Linked DNA regions of Homo sapiens: region 1 is linked to region 2. Evidence: promoter capture Hi-C in human tissues and cell types (Jung and others, 2019). All regions are on one chromosome and are shown on one strand. Each heading gives the region's core, a stretch centred on a gene start or on the middle of the fragment in contact. The rest is flanking DNA. Distances are from core to core; before and after follow the strand shown. Region 1 overlaps CSRNP3 (cysteine and serine rich nuclear protein 3). Region 2 holds the start of CSRNP3 (cysteine and serine rich nuclear protein 3).

Region 1 (7,312 bases), core at 882-3,381, 69 kb before region 2:
ATTTGATTTTTACAAATATATACAAAATGTTCCTGGGAAGTTATTTCTAGATGCATAAATTACACAAATTACCCAGAAACTATATTAAAGATAAATAGAGAAGGACTACCAAACTACCAGGTACAGAAGATGGATGGTCCCTTCCAGACAGGGCCATCCAGGCAGGTGAATTACCCCTCTAGGTCACTAGAACCCAGAGTTCAGGCTTTAGAAATTTAGACTAAACTGGTAATTCAGAATGTAACCAGAATCTTACAGGGACAAGCCAGCAGGGATTCCTGGGGAAAAAAAAGAACTGGTGCCATAAAATGGGAAAGATCAATGTGGTGTGTTGTGGAACACAAGGAATGTCTGCATGAGTCTCCAGGGCTTAGTGTGCAGAGAATAGTGAAGAGAAGCTGACTTCACAGTTAAGCTTTCGAAGGAGATAAGGAGGAGACTGCCTTGCCCAGCAGTAGAGCACAGACAAGATCGCAGGTATTAATTATGTTTCTCATAGAATTAAGATAATTTTAAAGGTAAAAATAAAGACTTGCAAGTTACTGGGTAAAAGACTACCAAATAGAGGAAAAGAGAAACTTTATAAGCTTCTGTCTCAGAGAGAATATCAACTTACCCAATATTGTTTACACTAGTGGAAATGTCAAACACTGGGCTGCAAACAAAAATTAAAACACTACCAGTACACTGAATTTAACAATAAAGACAGGGAGTAATTTGCCAAGGCAAGCCACTGGAGCAAATAATATAAACAAGTTCAACAGCCTATTCAATGCATTTTAGAGCAAAAGAGAGGGAGAACTGGTTGCTTGCCAACACCTTGCCTCAGTGAGACATGCACTCTGCTATCCAGGAATAGTAATAGGTTAGAGGTTTGGGCTGGAGAGTCTTGTCACTTCATGTCATTTTATTGGGGATGGACTACAGGTCAATCACTACTGGCATTTTATCCTTTGGGTTTATTTGTACATTAACAGCAATTCTGATGTTTTCCCAAGTTCAAGGAGTAGTCTTCACCTGTAGATTTATTCAGATTTCCAGGACCTCTAGTTTCTTAGAATTTGCTCCAGCATAGCTGCTAACAAACACCCTTAGCAAAAATCAGTCTTACATGAAAATTAAAATAATTCAGGCACAGAATTAAATTAATTCTGAAAATTTACACCACTTTTATACCAGCGATTATTACTGTTATTCTTACTTCTGACTTTTTGCTTATTGTTAACTGTATCTCTAGCAGGCAGCCACTTGGAGTGCAAATATAAATTCACGTTGATTTAAATAAAAAGGTCGCAGAAAGAGAGGAGTGGAAAATGAATTAAAAAGTCATCATCAAAATGCATTTATTAAGCATCTTTTTATACATCAGCTGTTCAAGACACACTGTAAATTATGGAACAGACTAAAGCCTTTGTTCTCTTTAAGTTGTTAATCAAAAACATCTAGAGGAGCTATGCAAAAATGTTTAAAATACATAGCCATTAGGGGAAAATAATCAAATATTGGAAAACAATAAAGGAAGCTTTTATATGTCAGGTAAAAAGTCAGCTCATTCTGGCGTGAGGGGAAAAGTAGGTGTGTATATGACTGGGAAGAAAATCAAGTAGGTTAGCCATGAAAATTCAGTGTACTAGCTGGGCAGAGTGAAAGAAAAAGCAAATTCTTGTCTATTCCTGCTTCCCTATCAGACGAGGCATATTGGACTTACATGAAGCCACAGAGTAAAAACAGTGCATATTGATCTGTCAGTTTTACTAAAAATACTTAGAGAAAATGCTTTAAGTAATCAAAATATTATCTTGTATTACAACAAACATAAATATACCATCAGGTTGAATGCAAAGGGTTGCATAAATTTTAAAGAAAACGATAAGACTTAATGAAAATTTTGACCCTGTCTTGGTTGCTTAAATAACATCGTACTTTTTCAATCCACTATTCCAGAATAACTCATGCTTCCTGTAGCATGAGATATCGTTAGGAGTATTTCTTTTCCAAATGTGGAAAATAGAAAACTCTCTCTGTATTTGTGGTGATAGAATTGTTAAACATAGTTTTTACTACTTGAAAATTGGCAAAACAGGTACCTAGGAATGGCAAAATGCAAGATGCTTCATAAGTGAGAAGTGTATCTCTAAGACAGTGTTCACAAGTGTATTGCTACATGCCAGAAAATATGTCAAGACTCAATGCAAAGATAAATAATTTCATTATTTAATTAAGAGGGGGAGGAGGCACTTCAACAGAAAGTAAGGGAATAGAATATCTATTTCTATTACTGGAGATGACTATGAAAAAAATGGGAGAAATGTCAAGGCAAGATACTAGGGAAGATGCCATTGAAAATGTCAATAATTCATTTCAAAAGCAATTCCACACAATGGCTCTTTCAGTCCATATGGAAATAAGAAAGAGATATGTCCTTTCTTCGCCATGAGTTGTGAGAGACTGGATGGAAGTGGGGACACTGGGTAAATGGGATAGAATACGCACCTAGCTAGTTCATGAAGTATACGGGAAAGGAGAGGCAGCAGATATAATCTTCAAAGAAGGAGAAAGCTAGTGAGAATCACGAAGGTATCACTGAAAATTAGAATCCCACAGCCTCAAAATGGCCTGTCCCACTTTCCTACTGGTTTTGGGGAAAATAGCACAATTAGAGACAGGGTGGTATGTAGTAGTAATAATAATTAATAATAATAAAAGGAATTATACAAAGTGTCATGGGAATTGCACATAAGAAAAGCTTAATTAACTGGATTTCTCTCAGGGGTATTTTTATATGCAGATATTCCTGTGTTGTGGGATGAATAATCTTGCCTCTTTAAGGAATTGTAGCCACCAGTGAACTGCTGAAGGTACTGCTGGAGCAGTGGGTCCTTGCTAATAATGCTAAAGATACAGGCCAACTCTGTTTTCTTTCTTTATCCACAAACACTCTAGTTTTACTTTTCTCATCTGTCCTCAGGAGCTGAAGGGAAAAAAAAAGCTCAGTAGTTTCATCAAACAGGGGCTACCTCTTCTTCATTTAAGATTCTCAGTGCCTGTGCACATGGTAGACAATAAATGTTTCTGAATTGAACAAATCAAAAAGAAAATGGAAGGCAAGTGGTAAATCTAGGTCATAAATTTAATTAAGGTAAGGAAAAGAAACTCTAAGATCAATACAAAGAGAAGAAAATAGAAATGGGAGTGTAGAGAAAGGGAAAAGCAAGAGAAAAGAAGTATGATAACTTGAAAAGGACACAGTTACAGAAAAGAAAGTTTGGAGTGAACAATATAATGATATTTCTTTGATGTACTATAAATGAAATTTTTAAAAAAATTGTGAGCTCTCTGACAGGAGGTGTTACACTCTGAATAATTGCTAATAATTCTTAACAAATCAATGTAAAGGTAATAATAATTTTTCCATTTACACTTATAAAACTGACACATTAATTGATGATAATAAAACCTTTTCTTTGAGCTACTTATAATATGACATTGATTTGATAGATCAGATAAATAGCCTTCATTATATATCTAGGATGCAGGGATATTTTCATCTGGAAAATTCAAGGTGAGGTTCCTGGCGTTAAGGGCTTTTAGGTCCCCTGTGGTTCACTCTCTGAATGTCTTTACCAACAAATCTGTAAAGCTCAGTATTCACCAGGTCAGGATCCATAAACCCACTGGCATTCAGTGAGTAGCTTCTTTCACCCTTCCTTTGTCCCTGTGCCATAAACAGGAAAAAAAAGCATGAAGTTGAATGTGTCAGTAACAGTTGGGTTTGTTAGCCACCATCCCTCGCTCCTGACATTTAAAGAAGGTGACTTATCTTCTGTCCTGGGCAGCAGAGACAATAGAATGATGCAAAAAATAAGAGATCTGGACTGCTGTGGATGGTTCTTTTGGAGAGATAAAGGGAGGAAAGGGAAGGCAGAGTTTCCTGTTTGAGTGTTTGTTTTATGTATCCTGGTTTCAATTTCCCTTTGGAGAATACCATACACAGGATACATACGGAAGCAATGACTATAGCCAGTGCAGCATGTGGTCTTATGGCAGATCTTAATATATATTAATTAATGTTAATCCATATTATTTTATTCATCTATTTAATTGAAAACACAATTTAAAATCTTGTTATCCTGCAATATAACATTTAATGTATTCAATAACTGGCACACATGAAAGAACTACATATAGTGGGTTGTGATTAAATATTACTTTTGGAAGAATGAGCAGATTCTGCCAGAAGTATCTCTCCATGGCAGAGTCAGAATTCAAAAAAATCTTACATACATTTTCTATTCACTGCATTGAGTTGAAGAACTTGACACATGCTTAACATTACACGCTCTAGAAATCCTAAAAGTAATTTTATAAAGGTGAGGTCAATAAACACCCAGAAGAATATAAAAATCTTAGAGACCATCGTTATTTACTTGTCACCTGACAAAACCAATACTTTAAATAGTAAGGTGTGGTTTTTATGTTGTCATTGAGTACTAGCATGTTTTTTGACAGGCAGAATCATGTGAAAGCCATATTCAGCTGAAATTTATGGAAACATTGTGGAAACCTTAGTCAGATCAACTCTTAGGAAAGAAATAAAAACCATAATCAGATGCACTTGGAAGAAACTTGTTTAAGCATGGTTAATATTTATAACTAGGTTAACAAGAGTAATCTGAGGTCAGATGAATCTGCATTTTCAAACTCTGAGGCTGCCAGTACTGAACTAATAACAAATAGAATACATAAGACGCTATTATATTTAAACTGAAAAAAGCTTAGAACAGTTGTGTTGACAATATTTGGTTGAGATTTAGTTACAATGGCTTTGGAAGTATATTATTGGCACACAAATGTGCATATAGCTTGGAGTTCAAAACCAGACTGTCCTTCATATCTCTAGTGTTAAGAACATTATTTTAAAGTAGAACCAGGGAACTATGGATGAATGACCTCTGATTTTACTTGCAAACTTTTGTGTACATTTTTCTGAGAAGAGAAGTCATTGTTTCGTGGGAAACAGAAATTTTCAAATCCTAATAATTCTGGTGTTTCTAGAATGACTAAATATGGCATTAAATCAACAGTGTAACTATATATCATACTGTCAGCTTCCCATGTGGATTTTATAACATCAGCCTCACCATACTTAATTTAGTTTCTTTCATCTAGCAGGTTCTCAATATGTTTGCTATTGATAATGATGACAGTAGTCCAAGCCATGATCTCATTTTCCAGACTGTGTTCCCCTCTTCATTTTCAAGTTCCTCTCTAGGCCAGCAAGATTTTTATTCTCTCTCATCATAGCAATAAACCTGTCATTGTGATCACGTCAGACATAAAATTTGCCAAGGCCAGCACACAAATTCCTTTCCCTGCAAGTAAGCTTGCCTCATTCTTGATTCTATCCTTGATGACGGAAGGCCATCTTGTATATCATCTGTCCATTTGTAGACTAAATGGTCTACAAGGAAAGGGCATCTAAATTTTGCCAAGCTTATTTGTAACCCACTGCCTAGTTTGTGATTAAGGCTGAGATGACAAGGTTTTCTTCCTAGCAGCAGAAGGAATATGTTCTTTTTTTCCTCCCAGAACAGGTTATTACAGAGTTTTAAAATGTAGGTCAAAGAAAAAAAAAAAAAGAACAAGCTAAAGTATTTAGAATATACCTAGTCCCCAGCATACTACTTTTCATGAAGCTCCAAATATTTCTCTTCTTATGTTTACAAAAAATATGTATCTAAATATTTAAGTGTTTTTCTTCCTCCTAAGGATGAGTCATATTTAGCAATTTTACCTATATCTCTAAAAATGCATTTTATTTAAATAAGAAAACAAACATCAAAAAGCTGGTAAACATAACTAACAAGTATTTAAATTTGGACTATATTACATACCATTATTCTTACAGTATCAATAGCCAAGCCAAGTCTCAAGTATAATATAGAAAAGTGGTTTCTCATCTGATAATTTTTTATAGAAAGTTTTGGTGACTTAAACATCTGCATTTACACTTTTTATTATGTGTTATATATACTTGCTTTAATAATTTAAATGTTACAGAAATATAGGTTTAGAATATAAGAAACCCACTATAATCCCATCCAATCAAGGACAACTTCTATTATCAGTTTGATAAATATTATTAATGTACTAAGATATTATTATTTTAATATTATGGGATTGTTTTTTAAAGAAACTTGAAAATATTTCACCACTTTCTTTTTTCACTTAATATTTACTTGATGTTTTTCCATGTCAGTGTATATTAGAACCACTTTATTTTTTTATTAAAGAGCTATATAATATTTCTTTATAAGAATTTATGATAGTTTATTAAATCAACACCTTATTGATAGATATTCAGAAGTTTTTTCAATTTTTTACTCACAACCAATGTGTCAGTGAACATTCTCTATGCACCTGTATGAGTCCTTCTGTAGAATGGCTGCAGACATATGGAAGATTCAAAGGAATTAGTGTTTTAACAAATATTTCTAAACATATTCCAAAAGTATTGTAAAGAATTTACATGTTCACCAGTAATATATAAAAGAATCTGTCCTACACACTTTTCAGTTTTTTTAAACTCATTCAATAGCAACTTTCTAAAGCAGACGTCACAAACTCAGATGACTTCAGAAACAGATAGATACCAAAAAATGTGCATCAGCACAGAGTAAAAAATGGGAAGTAGTAGAAATTCAGCAAATTTAATTTTAGTAAATATTATGAGGGCCAAAACAAACATATTTCAGTTCTCAGGTTGCCAGTTTTCAGCCCTTGTCTTAATGGAATACATCTAGTTTTGATTTTATAAAGCACAGAATTTCCTTTACTTGAGAAAGCAATACAACCTTTGATGAGATGATAAATTTCACTGGATACATCTTATTTTTACCTTATTTTCTTTCTTTACTTTTGCTTCAAAATTTACAGTTATAAGAAGAATTCATTGTTTCCTAGACAGGATTCATTATATGTTGTATTAATTTTTATCAATGCAAATCTTCTGTAACAGATATGTTGAAAACAGTAACATTTATTGTCTTATATTTCCCCATTTATAAAAAGTTTTCTTACACTTATCAACTTGCTAGAAAGCCTTCAAACTCACATACAAGATTATTTTAATACTCTTACTAGTCCCGTATCAGTAATAGAGAAAAATAAGAAAATAAACTACTTGTCTTAAACATAAGCAATATGCTGCTAAGGTTTATATTGAACCTACCAAAGCATCCTTGAATAGAAAAAAAGAAATATCATTATTTTAGCTTGACAAAAAACAGAAGAGAAAAATTCTTGTGTCCTT
Region 2 (7,150 bases), core at 3,684-6,183:
TTAGTTTCCCACTAAATATGATCATTGTCCTCTCTGCGCCTTAATTTTGTCATAGGTAAAATGAAGAATCCAGGAAGAAATTCTCTCTACACGGCAGTCCCATGTTTCTAGGGCAATAAAAGACTAAAATATGAAAAGGTAATACATGAATTAAATGAGTATAGGCCAAGGAATTTATAGTAAATATTGTTTAAAGACATAAACATTTGCATAAAAATTACTTTTGCCAGGGACAGTGGTATAAGCCTGCAATCCCCCAGCCACTTGGGAGGCTGCAGCAGAATAATCATTGGAGCCCAGGAGTTTGAGGCTGTAGTACACTATAATCTTGCCTGTGAATAGCCTGCTGCACTCAAGCCTGGCAACATAGAAAAGCCCTATCTCTAAAATATAAAATAAAATAAAATAAAACAATATGATAAAATAAAAAAATATAAATTTAAAAACTACATTTGATAGTGTTGGTGATTTTTGTTTAAAATAATGTCATTTTTATGAATGTGCACAAGTCAGGAGATAAGGAGAAATGTGTGCACCACCCTTTGTGGTATTGGAAAATAATGTATTAAGCTCTTGATCTAAGTAAAGTATAAGAGCTTATTGGAAATAAGTCACATGCATGCTTATCTTCTTTTCAGGCCATGATATGAGATCATGAAGTTGATCATGAAGTTGATCTCGTATCAAAGTGATTTCCTTACTATACGTAGTTCATAGAAATAGCACTGATATTTATCTAGATCGTTATAATCTTGAATTAAATACCTTACAAGTTATATTGAGTGTTTTCTCAGGGCATGCATATTCAACAGTTTTCAGCTCAAACAATTTAGGCCATTATAATATCTGAAATCTAAGCAATTGACAGAGAAATCAAATGATCTGCCCAACTGATTCATTGAGATATGTGAAATATCCAAATGTGACAATTAGCTTGATAAATCCATTCCTTGCTTCTTCATACCAAATCATAATTAAAAAGCAATAATGCTGCTTTGAACCAACCCCCTTTTAATATCTGTATAAGCCCTGTATTAAACTATCAGGTATTAAATATATTAGTCAAAAATAACATCTGATTAATAATACCTTTGAGTTGTGATGTACTATAGTACAAATGTTAATGTAATTTTTTCATTTGACTGGATTAGTTTATGTATACAGCACAATTTGAATATTATTAAATCTGACCCAAGCTTTCTTACTCTCATGTTATTTCCATTTCTTGTAAATGCCACCCCTCCATTTCCAGCAATAAGAGGTTATTTGCCAAACTAGCATATTTCCATTACAGATGTAAAGTTGTCTACTTATATTATAGGGGAAGTAATTAAGTATTTTGTTTTCTTTAGTATATTTTGTGAGACTTTAAGAGGCCATGAAAACCCACCCACAATTCTGGCAAGCTACGTTTAGCAAAGAAAGAAGCATGAAGCAGTAAGTAGAAATGACTAACAAACTGTATTTTTAAATTATCTGTAGTTGAGAGTAAGCCTACGAAATGCATTCTCTTCAGGATCTTGACAAGCATTGATAATTTTGGTTGTGCCTTAAATAGGGGTTGTCTACACAGGTCACATAATCCATTTACTAGTCTATCTGATTTGTTGTTAGCTTGCTTTTTAATGTCATCAGTGTTTATGCTGAAAGTGCTGTCACTGAAGTGCTTTGCTCGTGTTAATTGATAAAAACAAAATACTTCCCACCATCTTAGCTTTTTTTGAAAATAACGTACTGACATGCCAAATTAATTTAACTTTAAATAATATGTTGGCTACATATTAAATATTTTAACACGTAGTTTAAGCATGTGGTGCTTTATTTGCTACATTGCTAACATTGAATCTAATAGACTAAGGTTAATATTATGAAAATAAAGTATGATATGTCACAAATATTTAAATGAGTTGTAAAGAGAAAATAAGAGTTAGGAATCTCATCTGAATTATAACAAAAATAATAGGAAAGCTGTTAACAGCTTTATGATGATTTTTCCTCTTAACAAATAGCTGAGAGATTTGAAAAAAATGGTGTATGGGATGACAGTGCTGCCTTTGAAGCATGTAATTTTATAATAAAAATGTTTTAAATTAAGGAATTGCCTAGGGTAGAATATGATGATAATTGTGATTTTTTTTTGTATAGAGAAAAGCTACATAAAAGTAATGTTTATTTTCAAAGAAAGCAAAAATGTTTCAAATAAAGCAAAAAGGATATATGTGCATTTACAGTGATTTATATTAAATTTTAAATTAATTACCTTAACATTAACACAAATAGCTTTTAGGTTGTTGGAATGTGTAATTTTTTATACATATTAAATAGATTACAAAGGTAAGGAAATAATTGCATTAATGAAACATGGTTTGGACGTTAAGTTTAAAAAATTCTTATTCTAATGTCAAAATGTGTATTGAATGCTCCTCACTATCCATAGCCTGGACATATACCAAGCTTCTCTCTTTATGATTAAAGTGATTGATACATTAAAAAATACTTCTTAATTTATTGTATTATTCATTATATTGCAAACCACTGCAAACATAAAGAGAAAAAGGAAAGAGTGTTGTGAAAAGGGGACAAAGCTGTATATAGTGAGCTCCATTAAAAACCTACATTTAAATCTTAAAAATGTTTGTACCAAAGGAAAAAAAAATGGTGATGCCTTCCCATTTCTCACTGAAAGCCTTACATGGTTTTCATTTGCCTTGTTTCATCCTTCACTTGGACAGTAACCTCTTAACTGTTTTCTTTCATGCTTTTTTTTTCTCTCTTGTCTCCACTCCAGCACACATTCTCTCTCTCTCTCTATCTCTTCCTGTGGACTCTGCAGTAAAAGCTACCCCAGTTGTCTCATTTTTATAAGACTTGCAGACGTCTGCCAGTGGCTGATAGGAAATGCTGATTGAGAAAGGGTTTATCTACTTTTCATCCAAAATATGTGAACCATTAAGGAAATTATAAAAAGCAGCAACAATATACTCTGGTTTTATTCAGTCCTCTCCCTTAGTGATTATTAAAAGGGTGATATTTTTAGCCAAAGAAAGCAAAATGCATCTGCAGCAGCTGGTTTCCAAGGAAACAGAATAATTTAAAACCATGTGGAACTCTGCTCTCTAATTTTCATCAATTCCCCTTCATTCCTGGAGGTAGCTTTACTCAGAATTTATAATTTCTAAAAAATATAGCTGCATTGATTTATTTCCTCTAATACATTTTAGGAGATGAATATCTGGTCTTATATATCACCTTGAATTTCAATCTTGGGGTGAGGGGTGGATTAATTTCAACCATTGTTTTGCTTAAAAAAACAAAATCGGAAAGATCCATCAATAATTAGAAACATGCCAAAATTTCAGTATTATGTAATAATTTTTGAAATCCAGAAACAGTTCAAAATCAACCATACCAGAATATTTACTTGGTTCATTATGACACTTAACCATATAAACATGTTATTAACTATATTTAGTACTTTTAGGAAATTTAAGGTAATTCTCAATTCATTTAGATAATCCATACTAATATTCAGCAATTTTCTCACTCATTTTAATTTTCCAAGAACTATTATATTTGTGTCTGTTTATTCAAAGACAAAATCTCTCAAACAAAAAAAGTACAATAAATAAAAAAATTTGAAAAACAATAAACAAAAAGAAAAACAATAGCAAAAAATATTTAGAAATTATATAGTCATTCCTATTAGTTTTGATTCATTCAAAAAGGTATTAAAATATGTAGGAACAAATTATTTACCTCATTGAAAGACTTTTATTTTATTATTATAATCAACAGGTATTAATCGATGGCCAGTGTACTGAAGTCAGTCATAATTCTTGAAAGTTCAATTTTAATGAGGTTCTACCACCGTTAAATGACCTGTATTTATGAATTAAAGTAAAGAATTAAGTGACTGGGAGTTCAGTTTTTTTGTATGTTTTTACTGCAAGTGTGTTATTTATTCTACATACTTAGAACTTGTCCCTTTTTTCCCTAAGGCAATATAAAGGACCATATTAGGAGATACAAGCACCTAGTAAAGTTGCTAAAAAAAAATTGCCTAGAGATATTATCAACAATATAAATGCTCTGATGGAATTCTTATCTAGATGTGTTTGACTGATAAATTAAACTACCCATGAAACATGACTGTTAAGATGCTATTTTTTACAGCAATGTTTAATCTTTCAAAATTAGGTTTCTGTGCTTTAAAATAAAAATGGCTCCATGTAAGTTAACAAGTAGAGACAAACCATTGTTTAATTATCACATAAGCTTAAAGTTTGCTGAATAAAATAATGCAAATATTGAACAACATGAGATTTATCAAGAGGAGTAAGTTAAATAACAGGGCTTAAATGCACACAAATCATTCATTCTAAATTAATGCTAAAAGAGTCTACAACCTGCAAAAATAGTTTTCCTAAGCCTTTTACTGTATTGTCAATATTAAAAGCCATCACATGAAATTTTATATTGTATATTCACAGAAGGCTCCATTTTCTCAGGACCTGTGGAATTTACCGAGGTTTTCTCATCCTTCCTGCGATTCCTAGTAACAAGCTTGAATTAAACATTTTTGAAGAGACACATGATGATTCATTTTATCTATTAATTTTGCTTCAGTGACACTTGCATAGAAAGTTATTTAGGATAAGACATGCCTCTGGTGATTGTTTTGTTTTGTTTTTAATCAGCTAAGGATTTTGCAGAGAGAAAGAACAGCAAGCTCATTGCAAAGCTTCCTCAAGTAATAAAAGGGACACACTTTCAGAAAATGTCCTCAGAATAATTTTCCTACTATAAAATTGTTTCCGTAAAAATTAAGAAGCATTCTCTTTTAAAGAAAAAAAGAATTCTCTTTTCTTTTTTTTTATTTTTCGCTCTTACCTGTAAATATGGTTTCTGTACTTCGGCTCCGTCAGAACACACTGAAGAGAGTACACTCCTCCCTCGTCTATCCATCAGGCGGCAGCCAACCAATAACAAAAGCCAGATCCTGGCATTCTCTAGCTCATGCTCCCTGCTTTGCTTCCATTTCTTGTTCCCTCCCACCTCCACTCTTTTAGAGGACGAATCCCTGCAGCTGGGAGAGAGGAAGCGAGTGGAGAAAAGAAATATGGAGAGAAAAGCAGAGATGCAAGATATTTCAAAAAATAGCTCCCAACTATGGAAAATGTCTGCAGATGACCTCAGCTGAAGTAAAAAGTCTTGCTTTGGATTTAGAAAAATAAAGTTAATCAATGCCTCACCTACCTGAAATCAAAGCAAAATGCTCATAGTAAAACCTAGGTAAATTGCCTGTTTTTTAGTTCCCACTGATTTTTCTCAGTGAAAAAAGTGTACCTCCTCATTATACATTTTGATATGCAGACAGAGGAGGGAGACTGAACATCAAGATGACATTTTGCATATTCAGTTTGCAAAGAGATAGAATTAAAATGAATCAACACCCTTTATACTTATGTTTTATATTATTTGCACTACAACCTCTGTTTGACAATGTTTTCATTCAAACGCAGTTTCGAGGCCTAATCAGTATGAAAAATATTTCATTCTGAGCATTAGAATATTCAAATATTTCACAGTTATGTGGTTTGCATTACTTCAGATTCCTTAAATGCCATCAATTTGTGAATAATGGAACTTATTAAAGATTAAAAAGAGATCAGTCACTTGGTTGCCATGCCTCAAAGTGACCAGCTGAACTCCAATTTTATTCTAATAAACTTAAACAAAAATCATTTCACTTCTGAACCTAGAGGCATAACATGCATTAAAGGACAGTTAAAGAAAACACCAAATTAGGATTTTTTAAGGCAATAAAGCAAATTCATCCAGTTTCAAACAGTTTAATTTTTAAAATACTGTAATACAAACCAGGGATCTTTATGATAAAAATTCTCTCAATTGAGCTTCCTCTAGTGGAGGTGGTCTGAAAAATTTCCTTAGAAAGACATATACAGTAGATATCACCACTATAGAGGTATGTACTGGCTACTTGAGGTATTTATAAGCCTTGCTCTTCAATTTCTTAAATCAGTAATGTGTCCTCATGGGAATAAGGCCAAAGGGAGTAAAATTAGAGGGAAGGGCAAGCAAGCATTCTTTAAGAGTTACTGGCATGGTGGCAAATCATTAGTCCAGGAATATCTGTACAGGAAGGGCTTGGGGTGTCAATATTGTTAGGAAAGGAATGGCTGGTGACTTAAACTGATACTAACTTTAGATAGGAGTGCACTGATTTTGCTTAGTTTGCACTGTTATTTAGAGTAGCTTTGGGAGGCTCTGCTAAAGATTATGGGGAAGACTAAACTATCGCTTATTCCCACCGCCAAGTCCTCTGTTGTGAAAAATGCTTTCAAAGCCTTTGTGGTCCTATTGCTAGGAATAACTGGAGGAATCCCTAGGACAGACAGCATTTTTAGAAATAGTTGTTCGGGGCCATCTTCATCAGAACCACTAGGGGAAGATTCATTAAAAATGCAGGTTCATGGGCCTCCTCCAGATTTAATGAATAAGCATTTGAGGAGTTTCTGACTCAGCATTTTTAGCAAGCTCTCCCAGGTGATTTATATGTCAAGTGTGATTGTAGACAGAGACTTGTAGGCAAGTATTTGCAGGGCACAAATTCTAACCAGATTTCTTCTGTTTAGATGATGATGCCATTGTCTCAGAAAAAAAAAAAAAAGAGAGATTTAGAGATTTGGGAACAAAATAACAAAATTAATTTGAACGTTTTGAACTTTTTGGATATCCAGATTAAAATATTAAATAGTCAGTTAAACTCATAAATAAGGCTGGGATGTAGGTTCAATTTGGAACCCCCAGCATCTAGGGTTCGGTTAAAGTAATGAAAATAAATGAGCACCCTAAGGGTTTAATATAAAAATTTTATAAAGAACTCATAAAACTTAACAGTGGAAAAACAAACCCAATACAAAATGGACAAAAGGCCCAAATAGACATTTCTCCAAAGAAGACATAAAAATGGACAACAGGTTTATGAAAATATGCTCAGCATCACCAATCCTCAGGGCAATGTAAATCAAAATTACTAAGAAATACCACCTCATATTTATTAGGACGGCTGTTATCAAAATGTCTGCAGATAAATGTTGGAGAGAGTGTAGAGAAAAGAGTACTCTTG

What was found. The method cuts DNA at HindIII sites, captures the fragments that hold promoters and counts their contacts. A contact is called where the count stands out against the background at its distance.
Region 1: a contact is called between a fragment that was not itself captured here and the fragment with the promoter of CSRNP3 in region 2, in 2 of the 25 tissues and cell types used here (hippocampus and mesenchymal stem cells).

Annotation. Positions count from the first base shown.
Region 1 is chr2:165,533,644-165,540,955 of GRCh38, reverse strand. All of the region lies in intron 3 of CSRNP3 (cysteine and serine rich nuclear protein 3), which reads right to left. Among named protein-coding and RNA genes, the nearest start is that of CSRNP3, 68 kb to the right of the region's middle. The HindIII fragment of the contact is 3,259 bases long and covers 502-3,760 here.
Region 2 is chr2:165,467,481-165,474,630 of GRCh38, reverse strand. CSRNP3 (cysteine and serine rich nuclear protein 3) reads right to left here and starts at 4,933. Exons shown (of 7, transcript NM_001172173.2): 1 at 4,891-4,933. The HindIII fragment of the contact is 6,911 bases long and covers 3,366-7,150 here.